7 separate regions of the Homo sapiens genome follow, and all the other regions are linked to region 1. The links are contacts of gene promoters, found by promoter capture Hi-C in blood cells and fetal thymus (Javierre and others, 2016). All regions are on one chromosome and are shown on one strand. Each heading gives the region's core, a stretch centred on a gene start or on the middle of the fragment in contact. The rest is flanking DNA. Distances are from core to core; before and after follow the strand shown. Region 1 holds the start of TENT4A (terminal nucleotidyltransferase 4A). Region 2 overlaps LOC101929200 (a long non-coding RNA gene). Region 3 overlaps ICE1 (interactor of little elongation complex ELL subunit 1). Region 4 overlaps ICE1 (interactor of little elongation complex ELL subunit 1). Region 5 overlaps ICE1 (interactor of little elongation complex ELL subunit 1). Region 6 has its middle 80 kb from the start of ICE1. Region 7 has its middle 97 kb from the start of ICE1.

What was found. Contacts are between HindIII fragments. The CHiCAGO score rates a contact against its expected background, and 5 or more counts as called.
Region 2: a fragment that was not itself captured here is called in contact with the fragment with the promoter of TENT4A in region 1 in 12 of 17 cell types (naive CD8 T cells, total CD4 T cells, total CD8 T cells and 9 more); the score reaches 26.6 in naive CD8 T cells.
Region 3: a fragment that was not itself captured here is called in contact with the fragment with the promoter of TENT4A in region 1 in 4 of 17 cell types (naive CD8 T cells, total CD8 T cells, M2 macrophages and 1 more); the score reaches 8.2 in naive CD8 T cells.
Region 4: a contact is called between a fragment that was not itself captured here and the fragment with the promoter of TENT4A in region 1, in 6 of 17 cell types (naive CD8 T cells, total CD4 T cells, naive B cells and 3 more). The highest score is 15.2, in naive CD8 T cells.
Region 5: a fragment that was not itself captured here is called in contact with the fragment with the promoter of TENT4A in region 1 in 10 of 17 cell types (naive CD8 T cells, naive B cells, total CD4 T cells and 7 more); the score reaches 21.6 in naive CD8 T cells.
Region 6: a fragment that was not itself captured here is called in contact with the fragment with the promoter of TENT4A in region 1 in 7 of 17 cell types (naive CD8 T cells, total CD8 T cells, naive CD4 T cells and 4 more); the score reaches 16.4 in naive CD8 T cells.
Region 7: a contact is called between a fragment that was not itself captured here and the fragment with the promoter of TENT4A in region 1, in 8 of 17 cell types (naive B cells, naive CD8 T cells, total CD8 T cells and 5 more). The highest score is 10.8, in naive B cells.

The regions. Positions count from the first base shown.
Region 1 is chr5:6,711,607-6,715,031 of GRCh38, reverse strand. It overlaps TENT4A (terminal nucleotidyltransferase 4A), which reads right to left and starts at 1,600. Exons shown (of 13, transcript NM_006999.6): 1 at 333-1,600. The coding sequence starts at 1,048. RefSeq lists silencers at 232-621, 992-1,061, 1,362-1,731, 1,842-2,281 and an enhancer at 2,452-2,511. The HindIII fragment of the contact is 9,360 bases long and covers 1-3,425 here.
Region 2 is chr5:5,417,596-5,421,020 of GRCh38, reverse strand. It overlaps LOC101929200 (a long non-coding RNA gene), which reads left to right. Exons shown (of 6, transcript XR_001742583.3): 2 at 181-270. Among named protein-coding and RNA genes, the nearest start is that of ICE1, 3.4 kb to the left of the region's middle. RefSeq lists an enhancer at 1,669-1,738. The HindIII fragment of the contact is 1,637 bases long and covers 432-2,068 here.
Region 3 is chr5:5,448,568-5,451,992 of GRCh38, reverse strand. The region is part of intron 10 of ICE1 (interactor of little elongation complex ELL subunit 1); the gene reads right to left. Among named protein-coding and RNA genes, the nearest start is that of ICE1, 28 kb to the right of the region's middle. The HindIII fragment of the contact is 1,017 bases long and covers 1,255-2,271 here.
Region 4 is chr5:5,464,615-5,468,039 of GRCh38, reverse strand. It overlaps ICE1 (interactor of little elongation complex ELL subunit 1), which reads right to left. Exons shown (of 19, transcript NM_015325.3): 13 at 2,814-3,425; 14 at 1,538-1,706. Among named protein-coding and RNA genes, the nearest start is that of ICE1, 44 kb to the right of the region's middle. The HindIII fragment of the contact is 1,907 bases long and covers 596-2,502 here.
Region 5 is chr5:5,483,798-5,487,222 of GRCh38, reverse strand. ICE1 (interactor of little elongation complex ELL subunit 1) reads right to left here. Exons shown (of 19, transcript NM_015325.3): 18 at 404-502. Among named protein-coding and RNA genes, the nearest start is that of ICE1, 63 kb to the right of the region's middle. The HindIII fragment of the contact is 3,984 bases long and covers 1-3,425 here.
Region 6 is chr5:5,500,741-5,504,165 of GRCh38, reverse strand. No RefSeq gene overlaps it. Among named protein-coding and RNA genes, the nearest start is that of ICE1, 80 kb to the right of the region's middle. The HindIII fragment of the contact is 3,021 bases long and covers 184-3,204 here.
Region 7 is chr5:5,517,880-5,521,304 of GRCh38, reverse strand. No RefSeq gene overlaps it. Among named protein-coding and RNA genes, the nearest start is that of ICE1, 97 kb to the right of the region's middle. RefSeq lists enhancers at 1-368, 369-1,015. The HindIII fragment of the contact is 9,665 bases long and covers 1-3,425 here.

The DNA of each region.
Region 1 (3,425 bases), core at 351-2,850:
ACAAGGGGTTCCTCACTTGCCCGGAGGCGGGGTGGAGGGGTAGAGAGTCGATTTCCCGTTCCAATCTCAAGAGTAAAAAAGACAAATACCTGCAGGTCCTACCCAGCAGCCCCTTTTCTTGGACTGTTACTTGTAGGATCTGGGCAAGTCACTCCACGATAAATGAGTCTGATGTTTAAAAAAAAAACTTTCAGTGCAGAGTCGGGCCTTGGCCTTAGCCTTCAACATCCATCCTCCAAAAGCCCGGGCGCCTGGGACGGGTGTCTGCACCGCGGGCGCCGGCCAGGACCATGGGCCCCGCCCCCGCCCCCGCGGCCTCCCCGCGCACTCACCCCTGGATGCCCGGGCTGTACGCGCGGCTCTTCCACGGGGTGCCGGGCCGCGGCGCCTGGGCCCCGGGGCCGCCCCCTCCGCTGAGAGCGGCCGCGCGGCTGCCGGACAGCAGGTAGTTGAGGCCGTAGGTGCTGGCCTTGTTCTCGCGTTTCCGGCGACCCGGGTGGAACTGGTGCTGCGACGGGGAGCCGGCGGGCGCGGGGCCGCGCGGCCCGGGGTGCCCGTTGGCTGTGCCAGGGGCGCTGGGCGCGCCGTCGGCGAAGTTGAAGAAGGCGCCGCCGCGGCCGCCGCCCGGCCGGCCCAGCGAGGCGCTGCTGGAGGACGACGACGAGCAGCCGGGGCTCTCGGTGCCCGACTCCGCGTTGGACGAGGAGGACGACGACGAGGACGACAGCGACGGCGACTTGTGCAAGCGCCGCGCGCCCTCGGCCGCGGGCCCCAGCGCCGTCAGCAGCGCGGGGGGCAGCGCGGCGGGCGCGGTGGGGCCGGGCGGCGGGGGCGACGCGGCGGGCAGCGCGGGGCCCAGGCCGCCACTGCCCCGCCCGGCCGCCCCCGCCGCGGCCGCCGTGTCCAGCGCCGGCGAGTTGAGGCAGAAATAGGACGCGAAGCCCGAGCCGCCGCGGCCCACGCCCTGCGAGGTCTCCCAGATCTGCATCCACAGGGCATTGGCCGGCCCCTTCTGCTCGGGCTGGATCCAGGCCACGCGCGGATCCATCCACGCGCCGCCCCCGCGGGGCCCGCGCGCCCGCCCGCCCCGACGCGGCCCCGCCCCCGCCGCGCCCCGAGGCCCGGCCGCGCGCGCACGGACGGACGGACGGGCCTGGGCCGGTGGCGGCGGCGGCGGCGGCGGCGGCGGGCGGGCCGAGCCCCGGCCTCCTGCTCTAGCCGCGCTCCCGTCGGGCTCCGGCGTGGGGCGGCGGCGGCGGTGATGGGCCCCGGCAGGCCGCGGCGGGCGGCTCCGGCGCTTGGCGCGTCCCAGCGGGCGGCTGCGGTCTCCGGGCTCCCGCTTCACGCGGCGCGGGGCGGGCGCGGGGGCCGCGGCGGCGGCGGCGTTCCACTCGGGCCGCGGGGAGAGGCCATCGGAGAAGGGCGGGCGGCGGGGCCGAGGGGGCGGGCCCAGGCGCCGAGCGGCTGAAGGACCCGCGGGAGGCGCCGCCGCCCGTGCGGCTAGCCCTCAGTCACGCTCGCGCCGCTGGCTCGGCGCTCCTGCGGCGGCGGCGGCGGCGGCGGTGAAAAGACACTCTCGGCGGCGACAGCGCGGGGGAAGGAGGGGGCCGCCGCCGCGTCCGCTCCAATGAGGGGCGGGGGAGGGGGCGGGGACGGGGGCGGCAGGAGGAAGCGCGGCCTCGGTCGCCGGGCCGTGTCGCCGGTGCGCACGCGCGACCGATTTCAAATCCTCACTAGACACTGCCGCCGTGGTTACCGCGCCTGCGCGTTGGGGCCCCGTCGGCCGCGGGCGGGGTGAGGACGGCGTCAGAAGCTACGCGACTGGGAGGGGCTGGAGGGAGAGGCGGTGGCGTTGAGCCATTACTGACTAGGCCGGCGTTGGGTGGAATAGGCAGCGGCTGGAAGGCCCGCACGCCGCCCTCGGCCCGCCGCGGCGCGCAGACCCCGGCGTGCAGACATGCGCGCTAGGGCCGGTGTCACCGGGCTGCCGCCTGAGCCGCGCTGCGCGTGCGCAGGGCAGCGTGGCCGTCACCGCCGCCGGTGGAAGTTTCCGAGCAGCCGGGCGGGGGCAGCGGACGCCACCGCAGGCGCTTCCCCCGCCGGCCGGCCCTCCCTCCTGACGTAAGGGCGGGCCCCGGTCGCAGATCCCGCCCCAGGTCTCTCATCCGAGGGTCCGTGCAGCAGGTCACGCTGCGCTCTCTGGGGTCCGCGCGTCGGCCCACGTGCTCCCTGCACCTCGCGGGGTGAGCGGCCAGCGTGCCGTGCCGGGTGGCTGGCTCCGCCGCTCCGGAGCCGGGAAGGACACGCGGCAGAGTCCTGCTCCCTAGCGGGTCTGCTTACAGGCGTTTGGTTTGCTTTTTAAAATGATTTTCTATGCGAAAAGTGAAGTGAAAACTTCCAAGTTAATTCCCTGGGCAAAATGGGCAGTGCTAGCCGAGGAACGGCTGGTGGGCGGCGCGTCCGGCCCCCGGCTTCGGTTTTTCCAGCTGCACCGAGCGGGCAGGAGTCAGTGGGAAACCGCCCGCCATCCACAGCCTGCCGTTTGCCATCCCGGTGTCCCGAGCGCGATGGAAGCCGGGTTGACAGTGGCACTGTTTGGAATACAGCGCCAACCACACATCCTGTGAGGTCCAAAGCAAACGCCAGTGTCGTTGATCATCGCGGTGCCCCGCGAGCCTGGGCGACGTGAGGCCCCGCGGCTGCCGCCCTGTCTTCAGGCGGAGTCCCCGCAAATGCACTCCCGGGCCAGGGCCCTGAAGCTGCCTTAGCCCAGTGGCGCCCGGGCTCCAAGCCTTTTAAGTAGAACGGGACCTGGCCTTCGTACAGGCGTGTTGTAAATGCTACCCCCTCGTCTCCAGCACAGATGAGTAGACATTACTAAGCACTTGACCCTTCAAACATCGCCCCAACAGGAAAGGTCCGTGTGTTGCATACAAAGGCTTTGGGGCAAGTGGTGGTGGTTAGTAATGAAAATGAATGTTTCAGACGTTTTCAAATACCTTCATATTGTACACGTGGAAATCATGACCAAGGATTAGAACGTGCATTCAGTAAACTACAGAAAATCACACACAAGTCAAACGGCCGTTATTCTGGAGCTGTTTGCTTCCAATGGCTCAGTCCAAAATCCTTGGTCATGCCTGGCTCCTCTCTCTGTCCACAATGAACACATCCTCTTGGCTCCACTGCCCGAAACAACCAGAACCCAACTGCTACCCCTCCTCCTCCCTCCACCCCTCTTTCCCCGCCACCCGTCCATTTTAAAGCAGTGCCTTCTAGCTGGTTTCCCACATTCTGCACAGCTGCTCGTGTGATCCTTTTTAAAAAACAAAAAAGATGTTACTATTTTAAAAATCATCTCATGCCACTCTTAGAATACTATGCAGCCGTAAAAAGGAATGAGATCATGACCTTTGTGGGGACAT
Region 2 (3,425 bases), core at 1-2,500, 1.3 Mb after region 1:
TGGAACACGCTTCCTTCTAGCTCTAGGTGTAGAAATCCTACCTGCTCTTCCAGGCTCCGGGGTTTACCTCCACAACCCCAAGGATCTGCCACCTAAGGGGCAAAAAATCCCCTTAGCACGGAGTAATTTTTAGTAACATCACATTTTGAGTTGGATGATGGTGGTTTTTATGTCTTACAGATGAGTCTTCCCTTTAAATGCTGCAAAGTGCTGCATAGTAGATGTTAAATGAAAGTCAGAAAGAATCAAATGTGCTGCAAATAATTGAAGGTAAGAAACAACAAATATTTCCCTTCAAAAATGTTAATAAAAGTGTATTTTCTCCTACCTTTCTCAAAGCCAGTTCTCAAGACATCTAATGAAAACGAGTCTTGTTTACGTAATGCAGGGATAGGCAGACTCTGAAGAGCCACATGGTAAATATTTAAGCTTTGTAGGTCACACAGGTCTGTGCCACCTATTTGTCACCTTCTGTTTATTTAAGAAACTTCAAAATGTGAAAGTCATTCTTAACATGCAGGGTGTAAAAAAACAGGTGTGATTATTGGTCATAATGAAAATGTAGTAGGCCACTAATTGAGGAATGGTCAGAATTACATTTTTTCTCTTTCCTGCATGATGGGCCACACCTGTTTTTTCATCACGATGGAAACAAACAAGCAAGTGTGTATACTGCAAGTGGTGAACTATGGCTTTGGAACCACACATCTGTCTTTAAATTCTTACGCAAATGACCTATTTGTGCTGGTGTTTCCTTACAGAGGACCAACGGTAATTTAAGTAAAAAGTGACAAGGATGGGACCCACTCTATAGGATTCACTAGACAAATAGTTATTAATAATTTATTGATGGTGGTATCCATTTTGGAAAGGAGATAAATATATCTTCAACTGACTCATAGGAAAAAGATGGTTTGCTTTTTCTTTAAAAGCATTTTTCCTGTCAAACTTCCAAGATAAACTTGTTGTTTTTCTGCCAGAGAAGCCCTAAGACCCGGAGGAATGTCTGCATTCCAGTCTCTGGTCTTGGGATTCCCTGTGCCTGTCGAATCCAGCCAGCTGTTCAGAGGATCCAACTCAAAAAGTCTCACTTCTCACCCCACACGCTCATTACCTCTCAGATACTTGGTGTCTGCTTAAAACGAAAGCTCTGGAATTAGCATCATTGAGAGGTAACTGTTGATTTAGTTTATTAACATATACTTCCACTGAAATGGCTAATAGATATGGTCTAGAAACCAAGGAGAACTCAAAATGGAAAGCTGTCTATTCTTTGGAAGTTCAAGGCTGTGCTTTTAATTGATGCATTTAACTGTAAGAAAAATGAACTATATGTTCATTTGTTTCTTTTAATTGGAGAGATGTTTGATGGAATTGTTTGTGACTAACAGTGTGTTATTCAATGATATGACCCCCTGATTATTAGGTATTAATTTCCAGACCTGTGATGTAATGCTACCATATGCCCACAAGATGTCTGTCTTTCCCTGTGTGTTTTCCACATAAATAGAATTTCCGACGGTATTAGGACTTAACCGAACCTTCTTGCTGAGGGGAAAGGCCATCCTCTGGGGCATCCTAGGGTGGAAGGCGTCTTGTGGGAACCACTTTGCTATCCGCCCACACACGTTCCACCAGGCTTAGTCCTAAGCTGTCTTTGCTCCAGTTTTTCTCAACACTCAGGGTTATAGTGGTGGGGTTTCGACTTGTCCTCAGACATCAGCAATTTGCTCACAGCCTCAGCTCTTACCCTCAAAGTGATTTGAAGCCAGAGAGTAAACATGTTGCTTCTTCCTGAAACACTGATGTTACTTAGAAACCGGACAAATAAAATTTAGTTTTGAAACAATTAGTTTGAAATAGAAAGCAAAACTGATATGATTATTAAGCAAAATTTTCTTCAACCTGAGAAAGCTGATTGAGAAAAGTAAAAAAAAAAAAAGCAACATTTGAAAGGACTTTCACAACTCTCACATTGCAGTCGCCCTCTGTAAAGGAGGACAAGCCCACTCTGCCTTGCGGGTTTGTGAACACCTGGCGGCTGTAAGAGTTGGTCACACGAGAAGCTTCTTGTAGCTTCCGGGATCGGAGGAAGAAGGCGGCAGGTGCTCAGAGGTGACAGGTGTTGAGGAGGGGATTCTCTGTAGAGCAGCTGGCAAGGGCATGTCCCACCTAACTCTGAGGAGGGATAGGAAAGGGAGGGACATGTTTCCCCTTCACCTGAGGCCAGTGGGGGGTCTCCTTGGTTTCTAGACCACATCTAGCAGCCATTTCAGTGGATGTATATGTTAATAAATTAAATCAACAGTTGCCTCTCGATGATGCTATATTCCAGAGCTTTGTTTTAATCAGTGCCCCCACGAAGTGAAGCACTCAGAGTCAGATGCTACATGCCCTAGAGTGGTTCCAAGGGAACCGTGGGACAGCTCCAGGAGATGGGTTGGAGGTGACTGAGCCGCATGCTCACCCGCACTGGGATGAGCAGGAGTTCTGCATACTGGATACGGTGGGCATTTCAGTGGGAGCTGCGAGGAAAGCGAGGCTGAGGCAAAGTGAGCAGCCAGAAATAAAACTTTGCTCTTCCATCCCCCATTCAAAGAACTGTAGCTGGATGTCCACAGCTGGAAAGTCCTCACTTTGAACTGTATCCACACAGCACCAGTGGCAGCCACTCACCAAAACTTGTTTCTATTCTGTCTAGTTATTCCCCAGCCTCCCTGCACCTGACATGTGATTAAGTTCTACCAGCCAAACATCAGCAAAAGGGGCCTGGCCCCTAGGGCCTTCCTGTGCTCTTTGTCACTTCCTGCTGACTGGAAGAGGGATGAATCCCAGGACCCTGAGCTGGTGGTTAAGTTACTGTCTCTCGGCCCCACACCTTCCCTTTTATACTCTGCCTTGTGACGTAGGGACTGGGGAGCCACGTGCCACCTCTCCTGCCAGAGTTCTGTTCAGCTGTGCCAACAGATATACACAAGGAAACCAGAAGATAAGAGGTAGGAGAGGGGCCTGTGCCTCCCATTCTGTCCTGTCCGACTCCTGGTCCTGCTAGCGTCTTGCTATCCTTGCTTTCGCACCTGGCAGTGGCAGTTCATGAACAGAGCGGCATACGAATTGGGTCTGCAGTTTCTCTGACACACGCAGAGCCAGCCTCATAGCATCCCCTCGGAGATACCAGCAAAGTTGGTTTCCCAGCTCCACAGAGCCCTGAGTCCAAGAGCAGAGGCCTCAGCACCAGCCCAGAAGGTCCCTTCTTCATATGTCTGAGTGTGATTTCTGGGTGGCAGCTCCTCCACATTTCTGAGTTTTGCTCACTCCTTCCTCCTTCTTTTATTCTCTCCAGCCCAAGGTGTCAGCTGCTTCTTGCGGTGGCTCCTCCTGTGATATTTTAGTGTTTTGCTTTTACCTTTTCTCTCTTAAAATAA
Region 3 (3,425 bases), core at 514-3,013, 1.3 Mb after region 1:
TCCTGAGATAAATCTTCAAGCATAATTTGTCTGTACTCTAAATTTGTGGATTTAATTTCTTAAAATTTTATTTGGTATTTTTGCAGCTATATTAACAACACAAGAGTCCTGAATCTTGAGAACATGTGTGCATGCTATTTGATTTTGGTACAGCATTATGCTAGCCTAAGAGAATAAAATGGAAACATTCCTTATTTTCTAAGTTCTGAAACAAAAAAATTAATAACAGAGACACTAGTTTTTCACTGAACGTTTACAAAGCTCACCTATAAATTATCCGGATTTATTATGGTGTTAGATCTTTAACTATTGTTAAAAATTTCTTCCTATTTTTTGTTCAGGTTTGTAGCAATTGTTCTGAGTCAATTTGAGCATGTTTTCCTTGAAAATGGACCATTCTACTTACATTTTCACATCTGAATATGAACTTGTGAATTATGAAATTTCTTGACTGTAGTTTTACCTGTTTCTCAATCCTGGTGCTGTTTTTCCTTCTGTTTGTTTGTTTAATCAAAGTTTACCAAAGAGTTGTTGGTTTCACTAGCATTACAAAGAACCAGCTATCAGATTTAATTGTCCTAAATCAATTGCTTTGTTTCCTATTTCATTAAGTTTGCATTTTCATCAATTTTTTCTTTCAGTTAAACACTTCATTCTCCGTATTTATTTCTAAAGTGACAATGTATCACGTAAGGCCTTAACATATTCCTTTGAATAGTGAAGGAATTGGCTATATCTTAAAGATTTTAATAAATATTGCCCTACTGTTTACTTTCAAAACAGTTTAGTATTTCAATTCTTATTTTCTCTGTTACCAAAGAGAGGTTTTTTGTGTGTCTTATGTGAGTTTAGTTATTAGGTAAGTTTTGCAGGTTTTGTTTTTGCAGAGGGAGGGGGATTTTTATTAAAAGCTCATATTAAATTGTAGGTATTTTTTATTGTTCACTTACTAGTCAACTTTTATACATTTGAAAAGTATTTTAACAAACTCCAGGTGTGTGGTTTACAAACAGTTGTATATAAATTATCCATTTGGAACTGTGATTCCAATTCCATCCCTTGTCTGCTTTTGCTCTCTCTTTCTAAAAAACATTGTGAAGTCTCTCACGACGAAAATAGATTTGGCCAGTCCCCCTAGATTTCCAAGAGTATTGCTTGACATCGTTTCACACTCTTAGGTACATACTAGCAGTATCTTCATGGCAAACTATACTTTTAATCAACATTTCAATAATGTAAATTCATTTCTAAGCTTTTATTATTTTTTACCTTACATGACTGCTTTAATGTCAGCATTGCTTGGAATATTTTTATCCATCCCTCTAATATTCAGTCTGTTTCATTTGATTTTAGGTATATTTCCTACGAAGGTGTCAGAGACGGAGACTGTACACAAAAATCACGCTCAACACTTGGTGGCCCCTATGAATATGAATATTCCATGTGTTCTCTGCTCAGGAAAGTTCCCTTCTGTCATGTCTTGATCACCTTCTCTCCTTCTGTTTCTGTTCTCCCCTCTGAGAAGTCCTAGGAGACGCATATTGAGACATCTGGCTCTATCCTCCAAATCTTGTTATTTTCTCTAATATCTTTAATTTGTTTGTCCCTTTGTATGATGCTCTCAACCGCCTAGGATTCAGTCTCTAGGATCAACTTAATTGATCTTTTATTTGTTCATCCAGTATTTCCACCTTTCTACTGGGTTTATTTATACAATTGGATTTTTAATTTTCAAGATCCCTATCTGGTTCAATTTCATAGCAGCAGCCTATGGACATGTTCTTAGACTTTCTCTAAAGGAAATGCAATCAGTTTTCAGCATTTCCTTCTCATTCATAATTAAAGACTGTTTCTCTCAGTCTTCTTGCGTCTGTTGCTTTTCTCTTTTTTCTCACTGCTTTTTCTCTAAGTTTTAGATGAGAGTTTAGGCAGAACATCTTTGGCAGACAAAGTGTATTTCTTCAGCCTACATTTTTAGTGCTATTCCTTCAGCAGTAAATGTAGATTCTCATTTCATAAATCTGTGGGACCCTGCCTTGCAGGGGAAGCAGTGGAAAGTGGACGCAGTTGTGAGGGTTTACATGGAGTATATAAACATCTTGTTTTCTGGGAAGAGGAGGGGCTAGCCCTTAAAGTGGCCATAATTACCCAATTTTCTGATATCCACGCCCACTCTGAGGAGCTCCATTGTCATAGCTAAAACTTTAGAAAATGAAACTGGGGCCACAGTTTATGAGCAAAGGCCAGAAACAGTTTTTGAAACCAGAAGCTTGGCATTCCTTTCACCCTTTAATCAATTACCTGGCAAAATGCTAATGTCCTGCTCCTTCTCCCACTCCCTGCCATCTCTGATTTGGGGAAACTCGCAGCTTCTGCAATGAAAACTTACTTTGTGAGAGCTGCTATTTTCTCTGCAATTGCGGGTTTCATCACCAATTGATACTATCTGCTGTGCATCTTCCTCATTTCTTCTACTGATGGTAATCTTTGTAACTATCCAGGAGTTGCTGCTGTTTTTGTTTTTTTTTTTTCCGGTCGAAAATTTTTGTTGGAATTTTAAAGAAAAGAAAGGCAAAGTAGCACTCAGATGGCCTTTTTTTGTAAAGTGAAGTCAACCTAATACTCTGGTGCTTACTTTGCAAATCTTTTCCATAAGTCAAGTATTAGTGTTAACAATACACTTAAGAAGTAAGGATAAACCCATCAAGGTCCACAGCTAAATAACCAGCAGATTCCCAGAAACTTTATGTATTTGGGAAAAGTAAAATATACAACAGACATATCCCTGCCCTGATTAAGAGGGTAGATAAAAACAAAACATAAAACAATTTTACTTGAGATAGTAATAAGTTATTTGAAAAAAATACAACAGAATATAGGGAGAGAGAGCAACTACAGAAAGAAGACAGAAGGGTTCTGCTTTGAATAGTAAGGCTTGGGAATAGCTGAATTGTAAAACAAATCTGTCAGTCCAAAAACGAAGATAATTCCATTCAACCGCTGACTACTGAATGGGAAAGCAAACGTTGTCACGTCTTCTATTTCTCTCAGCAGTAACTATTACTTAAAGTCTCACTTTCCATACACAAGAGACAAAGAATCTAGTCAAAAGCACATGGAATCATATCTAGTCATAGTGGTAGGTGAGCAATCAATGCCCAGGCAGCTGAAAGGTGGGAACTGTTAAAGCCTTACACCAAGGAAAACATAAACTTGTACTCTGAATTTTAAAAAAAAATTAAAGAAAAAAAGGTAAAGGTGACTTCTAAAAGAGACACCATATACCTGCACACAATTTAAATGTTTTTAATCATTTCCACTTGGAGAAAAAAATAACACATTAGTGAGATGAAATACCATTATTTACTAATTAAACATTTTAAATGCATCCCCACAAAAAACCTGTGAGATAGAGCAGAAATTCA
Region 4 (3,425 bases), core at 300-2,799, 1.2 Mb after region 1:
AATGTTTTCCATTCACCTGCTGATGGACATTTGTTTCCAGTTATGGGCTCCTATGAGTCAAGATGTTACATCCGCGTGCTAGTTTATGTAATGATGTCATGATCTAACTCTGTGTTTCTGCTGCGTAAGTGCCTGAGTGGAATTTCTGAGCCATAGGATAAATGAATGTTTTAATTTCATAAGAAACTGTCAAAGAGCCTTCCAAAGTAAAGATTTTTATCCTGTTTGCTGTACAATCACATCTTTTTAGTTTTCTTTGTTCTACTTTATCTATCACTGACACATCTAAGAATAGATAGCTCAAAGCATAAACTCACTGCACTAAACTTCATCTGTTAATTTTTGAATCCTATGTTTATCTGGTGACACTTCAGAGTAGAAACAAGACAAATAAATTCTCTCCTTACAGAGTATACAAGCTAGAGGAGCAGAGAGACAGCAAACAAAATATTTAATCTTTAAGAAGTGGTAAGTGCCAGGAAGGCAAATAAAGAAAAATAAGGGATCCAGGATGACTAGGAAGGTATGTGAAATTAATGGAGTGAAACACAAGAGTTGAGGGAAACAGAGCAAGAAAGCTGTCAGCACAAAAGCTTGAGCTAAGAATGGGCTTGCTGTGGTTGAGGAAGAAGAAGAAATCCATCGTGGTCCTGGCCGAGCCCACACCCGTTCCGTCCCACCACCCACCAACTGCTGAACTTCATGTGTGTTTTTGTGATATGACTATGGCCTGTCAGTCCCACTGGACAAGTGTACCTCCATCTGATTTTAATCACCACAGAAATCCCAACATTCACTCCATAATGATTTGTTGAATGAATGACTGAGAGAGTAAACAAAGAAATGAAGTGGGCAAATGAAACACTTCACAGCTTCGTTCACAACAGTAAAAGTGATGGATATACTCAATTATCCTGATTTATAAGCCCCATAAACATGGTAGTCAAAGATGGTAAATGTTTACCACTGAGATAAGACTGATACGATACTAGGTTTCATTTGTATATCATATGATTTAAAAATACTGATGATTTGATACAGCAAAGAATGATTCCCAGTCTGATCCACTAGTAGGGATGGAAGAAATAGTAAAGAGAAAAGAGAATCAAAGGACAACCCTCATGTCACCGTCTCCTTTCAGCTTTCTCTCATCTACTTCTTTTCATCAGCTTACAATTCCATCTTAAAGTTGCTGCCCTTTCCACCTAGTGGTACAGCAGTTTGGCTTGTCACTTACTTTAAAGTATCCCATACTTTAAGGCAACTATATCTAATTCTAAAGCAGCTGCACAGAGCATAGAACAAATACACAGTAATGAGAGATACTCATTTATTTACAAGTGGAAATATAGTGCTGATATAAGTAAGCCCTACTAAAGACCAGGTGCAGCTGGGTATAGCTAAAGCTATTCAATGGACAAAACATAACATTATTTTAAAAGACACACAGTAATCAGAGCTGAAAATATAGACTCCAGTATAAGGGAAAAAGGCAATCGTATATTTTCAATACAAAATTGTCACAATCTAAGCATACCTTCTTTAAGTAGGCTGTAGCAAAACAAACGAGCTCTTTCCAAGTCTCCGAGTTGCCGACAAATACCCACATACACCCTGCAGAGGGCGTGAATGTAATTGTGGTCCATAGATATCTTCTGAATTTTTAGTTCTGAGAGAATAGAGTGAAGCAAGCACTCTGCTAAATGCTGGATTGAAAAAAAAATTAAAAAGGCAATGTACACTCATACTTATCTTCAGCCTACCAAAGATTATCTAAAAGTTACAAAACTTAAGTATCTATTGAAAAAATAAAACTTGCGCTACATCAGAAGGTAGAGCATAGTAACTGGTAAGAACTTACCTAGCATGGTAAATCATGAGAATCGAGGTCGGGGGTACTGAAGAAATCCCCACGCCTGTCTGTTTCCTATGGCTGGTAAATGCTGCAGATGCCAGAATGCAAGTCTCAAAAGACCTAGCTGCATACTGTCACTACCACTAGTCAAATAATCATAATTTCTTGGGTTTTGCCTTATGTAATCTGTGTGAGTATATGAAATACAGTATGTAATTCTACTCTCATTCTTGTTTTCTAAACTCTAATTTACTCTATATACTGTTTAAATTTAAAATACTAAGTAACATTTTTTGTCCTAAGAGGAGCATTACATAATTTGATATATGCATTCACTTCCTTTCAAAGTGACTTACGGAGCTCCTTATGCTTTCTGCAAGGAAGCAATCTAAAAAAATAAATATTTATGCCAAAATGACTCCAAGTGTCTGCAGATAAGCACTAAGTGTGATCCGTCTAGCACTAGAAGTCATCCAAGCAAGGTACCAGTGGATATTTAGAAAATATAGAACTATAAAAGTCCTAATAAACTACATATTTAAATTTAAACCATCCCTTTTTTCCCTCTCTTGACACTAAGCATTTGCTCCTGTTTGATTTGTAACAAAAACTCAAGGAAAAGAAAAATTATGTGATAATTTGAAGCTTTGAAGAAAATAATTTTAAGCCTCTAAACATGCCAGGATCAAGTGGATATATGTAATTTTAGTCCTGACAGATACTTTAAAAAAATTTAAGTAATTTAATGAATAGAAATGACCAAATCTCCAGTGTCTTATCATATTTTAAATCTGTAAAATGCTGGCTAGAAATATAGTCGTAATGTTTACATGGATAACTCTCATCCTTGAAGTAAAACTTTTGTTCATGGTCATCTACACATTTTGCTGACAGTAAACAGCATCTGTCTTTGAGGACATGTAATCCCTAATGCACTTAGAAAAGAGCAGCCACATACCTTTTTTGTTGTGCTAAATTCATAAACAACTTCCTTCTCTTGATCTCTCATTACGGGCTTTTTGGAGATATTTCCCACATACACATGACTACGAATGACAGGTAACAGATCAAAAGAAAACTCTGCAATTTTCTTCAGGGCATTAGCTATGGCTTTATCATGGGACTCCACAGTTTCTTTTGGGCTTAAAGGCAACTGTGAAACTGCACTGACGGCTGGACTAGAACAACTTCTTTCCTCATTTGTTGTTGCAACTTCAGCTGGAGGGAGGTTCCCTGGGAGGTTTTTGTGGATTCCTTCTGCAGTGACTCCCCTGGTTTCTGGTTCTGGGGACCCAGTGTCCAGGCGCAGTCTTTTAGCACTTCTCAGTGTAGACGTTGACAGTGTTCTTTTCCCGCTTGAATCCTGCTGAGTCCCCAAATCTCTTGACTTGTCTTGGTTACAGTCACCACCAGAGCTGCTCCCAGTTTTGACAAAAGCAGTTGCTGCTGAAGTGATCGTTTTGAATCCTATCATAGCACTGGCAGGTCCCGGTAAATTCTTACAGTCAGCAGGCGGACCTCGTGTGAGTTGAATATTCCCTTTGAGGATGTTGAGGGTCCGGGCCCTGGC
Region 5 (3,425 bases), core at 620-3,119, 1.2 Mb after region 1:
CTGTGATACCTGGCATCTCACTGTACATCACGGATTTCATTCCGTCAAGACACAGCTCCACCCAGGAGGCCTCGCAGAGAGCCCAGGTTAAGTCACTTGTCAGGGATCACACAGTACAGAGTTTTAGAGGCAGAATGTTAGCCGCAGGAAGAGAAGAGACTTTCTTCTTCCTTAGGAAAGCAGTGCCCAACAAGGCAAACGACTTTTATTTAAGTAATCAAATACCACCACAAAATCCACACACACATTCCAATATTAATGCTGGAATGTTTTGCAAATATTCCCTAATCTATGAGGCAGCAAGCAAAGCACAGAGCACAGCACACAGCAAGGACCCCAAAAAAGGTTTAACTATGAGAAACACAAGTTACTTAAAAGTAATTTTAATAGATGTAAGTTTTACCTTCATCGTGAGCATGCTGTATAAACATACCAATAACCGAACTAATATTTTTCACAGCAGATGGAAATCCTTCTTTCAAACCCAATTGGCCTAAACGACCTAGGGGAAACAAACCAAAATGTAAACAGTCCAGTTAAATGTTGATTAACTTTTCCTAAGAATTTAAAGGTCCACTTCTCTTACAAGAGGTGATCAAAATGCCTCATCATTTCGTCTTGCAATCACCTATACCAGATGATATACAATGTGTTGCTTTCCAAGTTACAATGGAATAAATAGAATTTAGAAGAAAGAATGGTTTCAGTAGGGCCAATGTGAAACGCCTGACTTCTGTTAAGTTAACAGATCAAAGATAAGACTATGGTCCCACCAAAATATGTATTTTTGGTCTGACACTTTGGCAACTGCTATTATACCACAGAGCAGTAATTCTCAAGTGTAGTCTACAGAAACCTTAGTGTCCTCTAAGTCAAACTACTTCACAACAATGCTAAGAAGTTAAGTGCCTTCCTCCCAGTGCTGACATGTGGTCTGATGGTGCAAAAGCCACAGCAGATCAAACTACCGGACTGTGAGTGCAAGTCAAGACAGTGGCACCTCGCTAAATGGGAGTTATTCTCCACTGCCAGGTGCTCACACTCAAAAAGCCAATTTTACTTAGTCACAATTACTCTCACTAAACCTGGACCCCTAAGCACAGAACTCTGTAACATGCTGTAGACGGCACAGGAAGCACTCCCCCATACACTGAGTACACTGGTTGTTGTGAAGAAATGCACTTATCCAATTGTTTGTCTTGTGAGTGAAATTAGGCGCTTTTTTCTCATAGGACACCACCTTTGATTGAAAGAACTGACAAACTATGGCTAACTGGAACAACGCAGATTTTTTTCAACAATAAACAAAGTGAACCTGTAACTTAAATGAACTTTATCCTCGTGGTCAATAACATCTGAGCTTTTAAGCAAAATTAAAAGTTTGGAACAATTTTCATCAGCTATCCTGAGCTTGACAGCTTTACAATATTTAAGACTTTTCTGTGATGAGATTGGTGATATTAAATGTGATTTTTGGGTATTGTTGGCATTTCGAAGATCTATGTCAATCAATTATTTTCCAAGTGAATAATGCAGGTTACAAAATCATAAGTGGGCAAAAGGATCCCTTCAACATTTAAGCTAGCTCAATGGATTTTAGTGTAACAAGGTATAAAAAGCTCACTGACAGCATTTCAGATTTCACACTTCAAGTACCCTTTAAGAAATTACTACTTGTTGAGTTTTATTGTAGCATCAAAAAAGAATATCCGTATTTGAAAAGGCTAGTAAAAGATTCTGCCCTCCATTAACTGTGTATTTGTATGAGAATGGGTTTTCTTCATATATTCAGTCTTACGGATATGAAAAACACACGAGAATGAATGCAGAACAGATAATGAAAAATCAGCCATCTGATATCAAACCAGACAGTACAAAGGTCTGCAACAAGGCAATGCGATTCTCATTATTTTTTGTTTGTTTTGGAAATATAGTTATCTTTCATTAAAAACGTCATTTATGGGTTCATTACTGTTCATTTTAAATGAATAACTAAATAAACAATTTCTGAGTTTTTAATTACTAACAAAGTAAATACAGATAGATGTAACCTGGAGTAACAAAAGTTCTTTGAGGGTTCTCAATAATAACTAACAGGTATGAGAACCAAAGATCCAAGGATGGAGATCACAGGGCAACCAAATTCCCCAAAGGCTAAAGCAAGCAGGATGGCATCATTCCCCCCATTCCCCTACACTCGCAGCCTTCCCTTACTCCAGGAGCTCTCCTATGGATGAGAACTTGCTTCAAAGTGGAATCCTGTTCCCTCCATCCAGGCAAATCCTCATCTTCTTTTGACTCCTAAGTAGGAGAATTGCGAACATATCTTGGATGTGCTTTTACAACAGTATCATATTGTATGCTCAGCGTTCTGTGTTCACATTCTCTCTCAATACTACAAGTGTCCCACAGGTCTATATGTGGATCCAGCATATGAGTTTCATCTCTATTTTAAATGTGGAGAAGCTGAGGCATGGGACGCTTAAGTAATTTGCATTACTTTGTATCCTCTACAGGAACTAGCTTAGTGCTAGGTACGTGCAGCCTGAATATTGAGATACACAGCAGATGCTCAGTACATAATTACTGATCAAAGAATATCAGGATAACTCCCAATGTAAGATGATATTGTAAATATCTGAATAATTTCTAGGGAGCCTAGGAAACTGAAAAGTAATTTACTTCAGAAATCAGAAATTTCAGGTCACTGACCACTTTCAAATATCTCTTTGCAATCAGATTAAACTGCTACCAGCATACCACTGGATCTGTCCTCTGGAACAATCTACCACGGATATTAACTGTATGACTAACAGCAGAGAAAGGGATGCACATCTAGCACAGCTATGGTATTACTCAATCATGGGATGTGCATGCGTTCCCAGGAAATATATCATCATGTTATAAGGGCTCCCTTTCAATTAAAAGCACTTAATGAAATTCAGTTTTATAAGTGATTTAAATTAATGGAGCTAAGGAGTAAAATAAGAGGAAATCATGAGTCTAGTAGATGATTTGGGGAAAAAGACTCAATATACGATGACCTGACAGAGATGACAGATTGGCCATGATGGAGGAAGAGCTCCCCACAGAAGGTATGTGAGGACACTCCAGGGCCATCCAGCCGTATTAGAATACAAATAAGAAATGAGGAGCTAATCTCAACGTCCATGACAATGCAATCCCCAGCACTGTCAAGGGAGCCCCAGCAGAGCTGAGGCCTGCACAGAAAGTAAGTCTACAGGCAGACCCTTCTAATAAACACTAATTAGAAGATAAAGACAGCAGGGTTTTCATTTAAGATTCTGGATGCAAGTTTGCAAAGGAAAGGTGAGCTGACACAATTTCAAAGGAAAGCTGACAGATTTGCCAAGAGAACAGATAGAAATCACTGAATAATGGCTACTTCGGTCTGACCTGCAGAA
Region 6 (3,425 bases), core at 445-2,944, 1.2 Mb after region 1:
TTTCAACATCTGGCCCATCTGTATGTCTAGTTATGAACTGTTCTATTCTTTATTGTAAGATATCAGAACAGCAGAGCTCAAAGTGCACACGATTTCCCTTCTTATGTCAGGCACTGGTTTCATGTCACTCAATAGACGTATTCTGCAGTTAAGCTGTGTCTGAGCTATTTGGCAAGTTAAGCTTGCTTCAGTTTACTACTAGGTTCAAATGTTTTGAAAGTGGGCTCAGGATTTTCCATTCTGCAGTGTGTGGGTTTCTGAGCACTAGCGAAATTCCCCAAAGTTTTTCATGTCACCCAAATCACCAGTTTTTCAAATCATGAGAGATCTCTCTCTGATTTAAAACTCAAATGATGGTTTGTACATTGTTGGAGAATCTTCTTTGCTCTCCAGTCCAGCCCAGGCTTTTGGATCCACATAGAGCTCCTGCTCTGTCTGGAATGCCCTGGAGGAGTTTCTTTCATCTTTTCTGCCCCACCCGTAGCTATTGTCAGTTGAAAGCCTGAGGTTTTTTTGGTTTTGTTTTGTTTTTGTTTTGTTTTGTTTTTGTTTTTGTTTTTTTTACCATTACAATAGACATTTATTTAAAGTAAAATATCTGCAGACCAAATAATTCTTAAAATTGTTTATTTCAAGTTTAACCATCTTCATTAACAGTTGCATCCACAGACTTCAACCATGTGATTACTTCTTTGCCCATTCTTCTCTTTCTTTTCTTTCCCAAATAACATCTTTCAGATACAGTTCAAGGCAGAAATTTTCCTCTTCATAGTTGGTCCACTGCTTTTGTTTTTTAAGAGAGGAGGATTCCCTCAGGTCTCTTGTTTATGCCCGGCTCTTGGGAACTAAAAATGGTGAGTGCCTTGGGTTGATTTATCACAGATCTCACGCTCTGCTTCTCTCCTCCTTCAGTAGGTGTTGCCTTGGTCTGGGAGAAGGTGCCTTGGACTTCAGGGGAATCTCCAGGTCTCTATCTGGTCTCCACCGCAGGCTCTGGTATACTGTATTAGTCAGGATTCTCCAGATGGATGGAACTAACAGGATATATGTACATATAAAAGGGGGAGTGTTTTTTTGTTTTGGTTTGGTTTTTTCTTTTGTTTTTTTTTTTTTTTGTTTGTTTGTTTGTTTTTATAGGGAGAATTGGCTCACACGATCACAAGGCAAAGTCCCACAACAGGCCGTCTGCAAGCTGGGGAAGAGAGAAGCTGGTAGTGGCTCAGTCCAAGTCCTAAAGCCTCAAAACCAGGAAAGCCAACAGTGCAGCCTTCAGTCTGTGCATGAGGGTCTGAGAGTCGTTGCCAAGCCACTAGTGCAAGTCCCAGAGTTCAAAGGCTGAAGAACCTGGAGTCTGATGTCCAAGGGCAGGAGGAGCAGAAGGAAGCATCCAGCACAGGAAAAAGAAGGAAACCAGAACATCCAGCAAGCCAGCCTATCCCACCTTCCTCCTCCTGCTTGGTTCCAGCCATGCTGGCAGCCAATGGGATGGTGCCCACCTACATGGAGGGAGGGTCTTCCTCTCCCAGTCCACTGACTCAAGACACACCCTCACAGACACACCCAGATACAATACTTTACCAGCCATCTAGGCATCCTTCAATCCAGTCAAACTGACACCTAACATTAACCATCACACATACTGTTCCTGAGCATTTGAGGAAAGCCTGTGGGGGAAGCATATTCTATTATTGAGGAGCCTCAGAATTCTAATCTGTCAGCCATATATGCCATTGCACCTTTACTAAAGTTCATCCTAATTCATCTTTATCCCCATCTATGGCAGATTTCTTTTTCTCTTGTGTTTACAAGAAGAATGAGAATCTCTTCCCTTCCCAGAAAAGGAAGAGATTTTATCTTAGGCCATTAGATGCTTCATGAGGACATTGGAATCAGCAGGCAGATTTAGAGAATCTACTCAGGGCTTTTTACAAGTCTGTATTTTCATTGAAGTTAAGGGCACTTAGCCTACCTGTGCCTCAGCTTTAGAAGCAGACATAATGATAATAATATCTGATTTTCAAGCATGTTCTAATGAAGACAGAGATAAAATATATCTGTCTTCTCTGCTATTTTCTAGAATTTAATCATGTATGGGTTCTTTTTTTTTAATCATCAGCTCTCTGATTAGAAAGACTATGATTTTGTTGCTTCTTACATCTTGCTTGGGTTATTTCATTAAAATAATAGTTTCTTGTTATTTTCTACATTCTAAACATAAGAGAAATCTTCCATCCTCTTACTTTCTATTGTCTATCACTGTGTCTTCCTGTGCTGTTTTCTGGGTATTTTCAGACAAATCATACATAAATTATCTCATCATTTGTAACTAATCTGCTTTTATCCTTGTTTCCTGGCTTTATACTTTGAAATATTTATGTTCGTGTGGTCTTGTTGTTAAAAGCTCCATTTTGCTCTTGTTCAAATTTGGTAAATTTTTGTAATCTCTTATTCTTTTGTCATACTTTTGCATTCCTCTCTTATTTCTTAAACATATTAAACACACATATTTTAGACATTCTAAATGTGGTAAATAAAATATACACAAATTTTGTAAGTCTGCCTCTAAGCACAGTTTGTTGTTCCTGGAAATTCTCTCATGATGTTTTATTTGTTCTTTTATTTCTCATCTGCTTAGGATTGTGTGGGTAGGAGTATGAATTCATGATCCTTGGAACTTCATGTGTGGGGATCTTTTAAGGACTGGAATCAAAATAACTTCCCTGTAGTGAAGATTTGCAACTGCCTTTGCAGGTCCTCGATGGTACTTCTAACCTGGGATCACTGAAAACACATTTTGGGGGAATTGAGCCCACTAGCAGTATATATTCCTGTCCCAAATTCATGAGTGCAGGCCTTTGGGTAGAAATTCTTCTGGGAGATATTGCTGTTTGTGTGTGCTTTTTTCTCTGATCCACCCACAGTTAGGTTAACAGTAGGTTAGCATCCCTATCTTCTTCCTCTTTGGGGGCTTTTTTTTTTTTTTGGCTTACCCCCAAGATATCTCCCTATGTGAGACTTGGCTTTTGGGGGTGGGGTTGTCGCTGATATGACATCCCCTAATTTTGGCCCCAGACTTTGTCTCCATTGCCCTTCTATGTGGCCTGTAACCTTCCATCTGCATCCCACCCGAGACTGTCTACATCCCACCCTGTTCAAATCTAGGGCAAATGGTTTCAGTGCTCCTTTCTCCTGGGGAGTTAAGCTTTCTTGTCCTTTCTCACTTTGAAGAGATTCCTTTATTTGCTGCTAGCTCAACTGTGCATTAAAAATATTTTAGTACATGCCTGTAATCCCAGCACTTTGGGAGGCCGAGGTGGGCAGATCACAAGGTCTGGAGTTCGAGACCAGCCTGGCCAATGTGGTGAAACCCCGTCTCTACTGAAAAATACAAAAATTAGCTAGGCATGGTGGCAGGCACCTGTAGT
Region 7 (3,425 bases), core at 695-3,194, 1.2 Mb after region 1:
ATAGTATCCAAAGGTAGTTTTTTGATCCTCTTCCTCCTCCCACCCTCCAGGAGGCCCCAGTGTCTGTCCTTCCATTCTTTGTGTCCGTGTAGACTCAGTGTTTCGCTCCCATTTATAAGTGAGAACATGTGGTATTTGTTTCATGCGCATCCGTGTGAAGAGACCACCAAACAGGCTTTGTGTGAGCAACATGGCTGTTTATTTCACCTGGGTGCAGGCGGGCTGAGTCCGAAAAGAGAGTCAGTGAAGGGAGATAACGGTGGGGCTGTTTTATAGGATTTGGGTAGGTAAAGGAAAATTACAGTCAAAGGGGGTTTGTTCTCTGGTGGGCAGGAGTGGGGGGTCGCAAGGTGCTCAGTGGGGGAGCTTTTTGAGCCAGGATGAGTCAGGAAAAGGACTTTCACAAGGTAATATCATCATTTAAGGCAAGGACTGGCCATTTACACTTCTTTTGTGGTGGAATGTCATCAGTTAAGCTGGGGCAGGGCATATTCACTTCTTTTGTGATTCTTCAGTTACTTCAGGCCATCTGGGCATGTACCTGCAAGTCACAGGGGATGCGATGGCTTGGCTTGGGCTCAGAGGCCTGACATTCCTGCCTTCTTATATTAATAAGAAAAATAAAACAAAATAGTGTTGAAGTGTTGGGGCGGCGAAAATTTTTGGGGGGTGGTATGGAGAGAGAATGGGCGATGTTTCTCAGGGCTGCTTCAAGCAGGATTAGGGGCAGTGTGGGAACCTAGAGTGGGAGAGATTAAGCTGAAGGGAGGTCTTGTGGTAAGGGGAGATATTGTGGGACTGTTAGAAGAAACATTTGTCGTATAGAATGATTGGTGATGGCCTGGATATGGTTTTGGATGAATTGAGAAATGAAATGGAATAAGAGAAGGAGAAAAACAGGTATAAAAGGTAGATATCAGCTGTGATGGCTTGGAGAAACAGTGTAAACCAGCAGTGTAAACAAGAGCAGGGCATGTATGAGTAGTTGAGAATGGTGATTAGGAGTATGACTAGACAAAAGATAGGAGGGATGACAAGTTTTTTGGGGCACAGTCTAAGTTGGTCTGGTGTCTAGAATGAGACTGGGGCCTAATAAAAAGGAGCGTCTACACAGGAGCTTAAATGGGCTGTACCCTGTAGCATTCTGAGGACAGGTCTGACTTCTGAGAAGGGAAAGTGGTAAAAGTATTGTCCAGTCCTTTTTAAGTTGGTGGCTGAGCTTGGGGAGGTGTGTTTTTAAAAGACCTTTAGTCCGTTCTACTTTTCCTGAAGGCGGAGGACCGTAAGGGATATAAAGGTTTCACTGAATACTAAGAGCCTGAAAAACTGCTTGGCTGATTTGACTAATAAAGGCTGGTCTGTTATCAGACTGTATAGAGGTGGGAAGGCTAAACTGAGGAATTATGTCTGACAGAAGGAAAGAAATGACTGCGGTGGCCTTCTCAGACCCTGTAGGAAAGGCCTGTATCTATCCAGTGAAAGTGTCTACCTAGACTAAGAGGTATTTTAGTTATCTGACTCAGGGCATGTTGAGTAAAGCTAATTTGCCAGTCCTGGGTGAGGGCAAATCCTCGAGCTTGATGTGTAGGGAAGGGAGGGGGCCTGAATAATCCCTGAGTAGTAGTAGAATAGCAGATGGAACACTGAGAAGTTATTTCCTTGAGGATAGATTTCCACGATGGAAAGGAAATGAGAGGTTCTGAGAGGCGGGCTAGTGGCTTGTACTATAGCATAACCTGCCTTTGCCGGTGTGTGGTGATTAGGCCTGGTGGAACTGCCATCAATAAATGAAGCGTGACCAGGGTGAGGAAGAGGAAAGAAGGAAATATGGGGAAATGGGGTGAATATCAGGTGGATCAGAGAGATACAGTCATGGGGGTCAGGTGTGGTATCAGGAATAATGTGGGAGGCTGGATTGAAGTCCGGCCCAGGAACAATGCTAATTGTGGGACTTAAAGAGTGAGTACAGCTGAAGGAGCCGGGGAGCAGAAAGTATATGCATCAGGTATGAGGAAGAAAATAGATTTTGGAAGTTATGAGAAATGTAGAGAGTGAGTTGAGCATAGTTTGTGATTTTTAGGGCCTCTAACAGTATTAAAGCAGCGGCAGCCACTGCACACAGACATGAGGGCTAGGCTAAAACAGTAAGGTCAAGTTGTTTGGACAGAAAGGCTACACGGTGTGGTCCTGGCTCTTGTGTAAGAATTCTGACTGCACTAACCATGCCTAGGAAGGAAAGGAGTTGTTGTTTTGTGAGGAATTGAGGTTTGGGAGATTAATAGGACACGATCAGCAGGGAGAGCACCTGTGTTTTTATGAGAATTATGCTGAGATAGGTAACAGATGAGGTTGAAATTTGGGCTTGACTGAAGTAATGGGGACTGTCTCTGAAGCCTTGCGGCAGTACAGCCCAAGTAATTTGCTGAGTCTAATGGGTGTCAGGGTCAGTCTAAGTGAAAGCAAAGAGAGGCTGGGATGAAGGGTGCAAAGGAATAGTAAATAAAGCATGTTTGAGATCTAGAACAGAATAACGGGTAGTAGAGGGAGGTATTGAGGATAGGAGAGTATATGGGTTTGGCACCATGGGGTAGATAGGCAAAACAATTTGGTTGATAAGGCGCAGATGCTGAACTAACTTGTAAGCCTTGTCTGGTTTTAGGACAGGTAAAATGGGGGAATGGTAAGGAGAGTTTATAGGTTTTAGAAGCCCATGCTGTAGCAGGCGAGTGATAACAGGCTTTAATCCTTTTAAAGCATGCTGTGGGGTGGGATATTGGCGTTGAGCGGGATAAGGGCGATTCAGTTTTAATGAGATGGTAAGGGGTGCATGATCGGTCACCAAGGAGGGAGTAGAGGTATCTTATACTTGTGGGTTAAGGTGGGGGAATACAAGAGGAGGATGCAAAGGAGGCTTTGGATTGGGAAGAAGGGCAGCAATGAGATGTGGCTATAGTCCAGGAATAGTCAGGGAAGCAGATAATTTGGTTAAAATATCTCAGCCTAATAAGGGAACTGGGCAGGTGGGGATAACTAAAAGACAGTGCATAAAAGAGTATTGTCTAAGTTGGCACCAGAGTTGGGGAGTTTAAGAGGTTTAGAAGCCTGGCTGTCAATACCCACAACAGTTATGGAGGCAAGGGAAACAGGCCCTTGAAAAGAAGGTAATGTGGAGTGGGTAGCCTCCGTATTGATTAAGAAGGGGACGGACTTACCTTCCACTGTGAGAGTTACCTAAAGCTCGGCATCCGTGATGGTCTACGGTGCTTCCGAGTGATCAGGCAGCATCAGTTTCAGCCGCTAAGCCAAGAAGAAGTCAGTCAGAGAGCCTTGGGCCAGAGTTCCAGGGGCTCTGGGAGTGGCTGCCAGGTGAGTTGAACAGTCCGATTTCCAGCGGGGTCCCGCACAGATGGGACATGGCTTAGGAG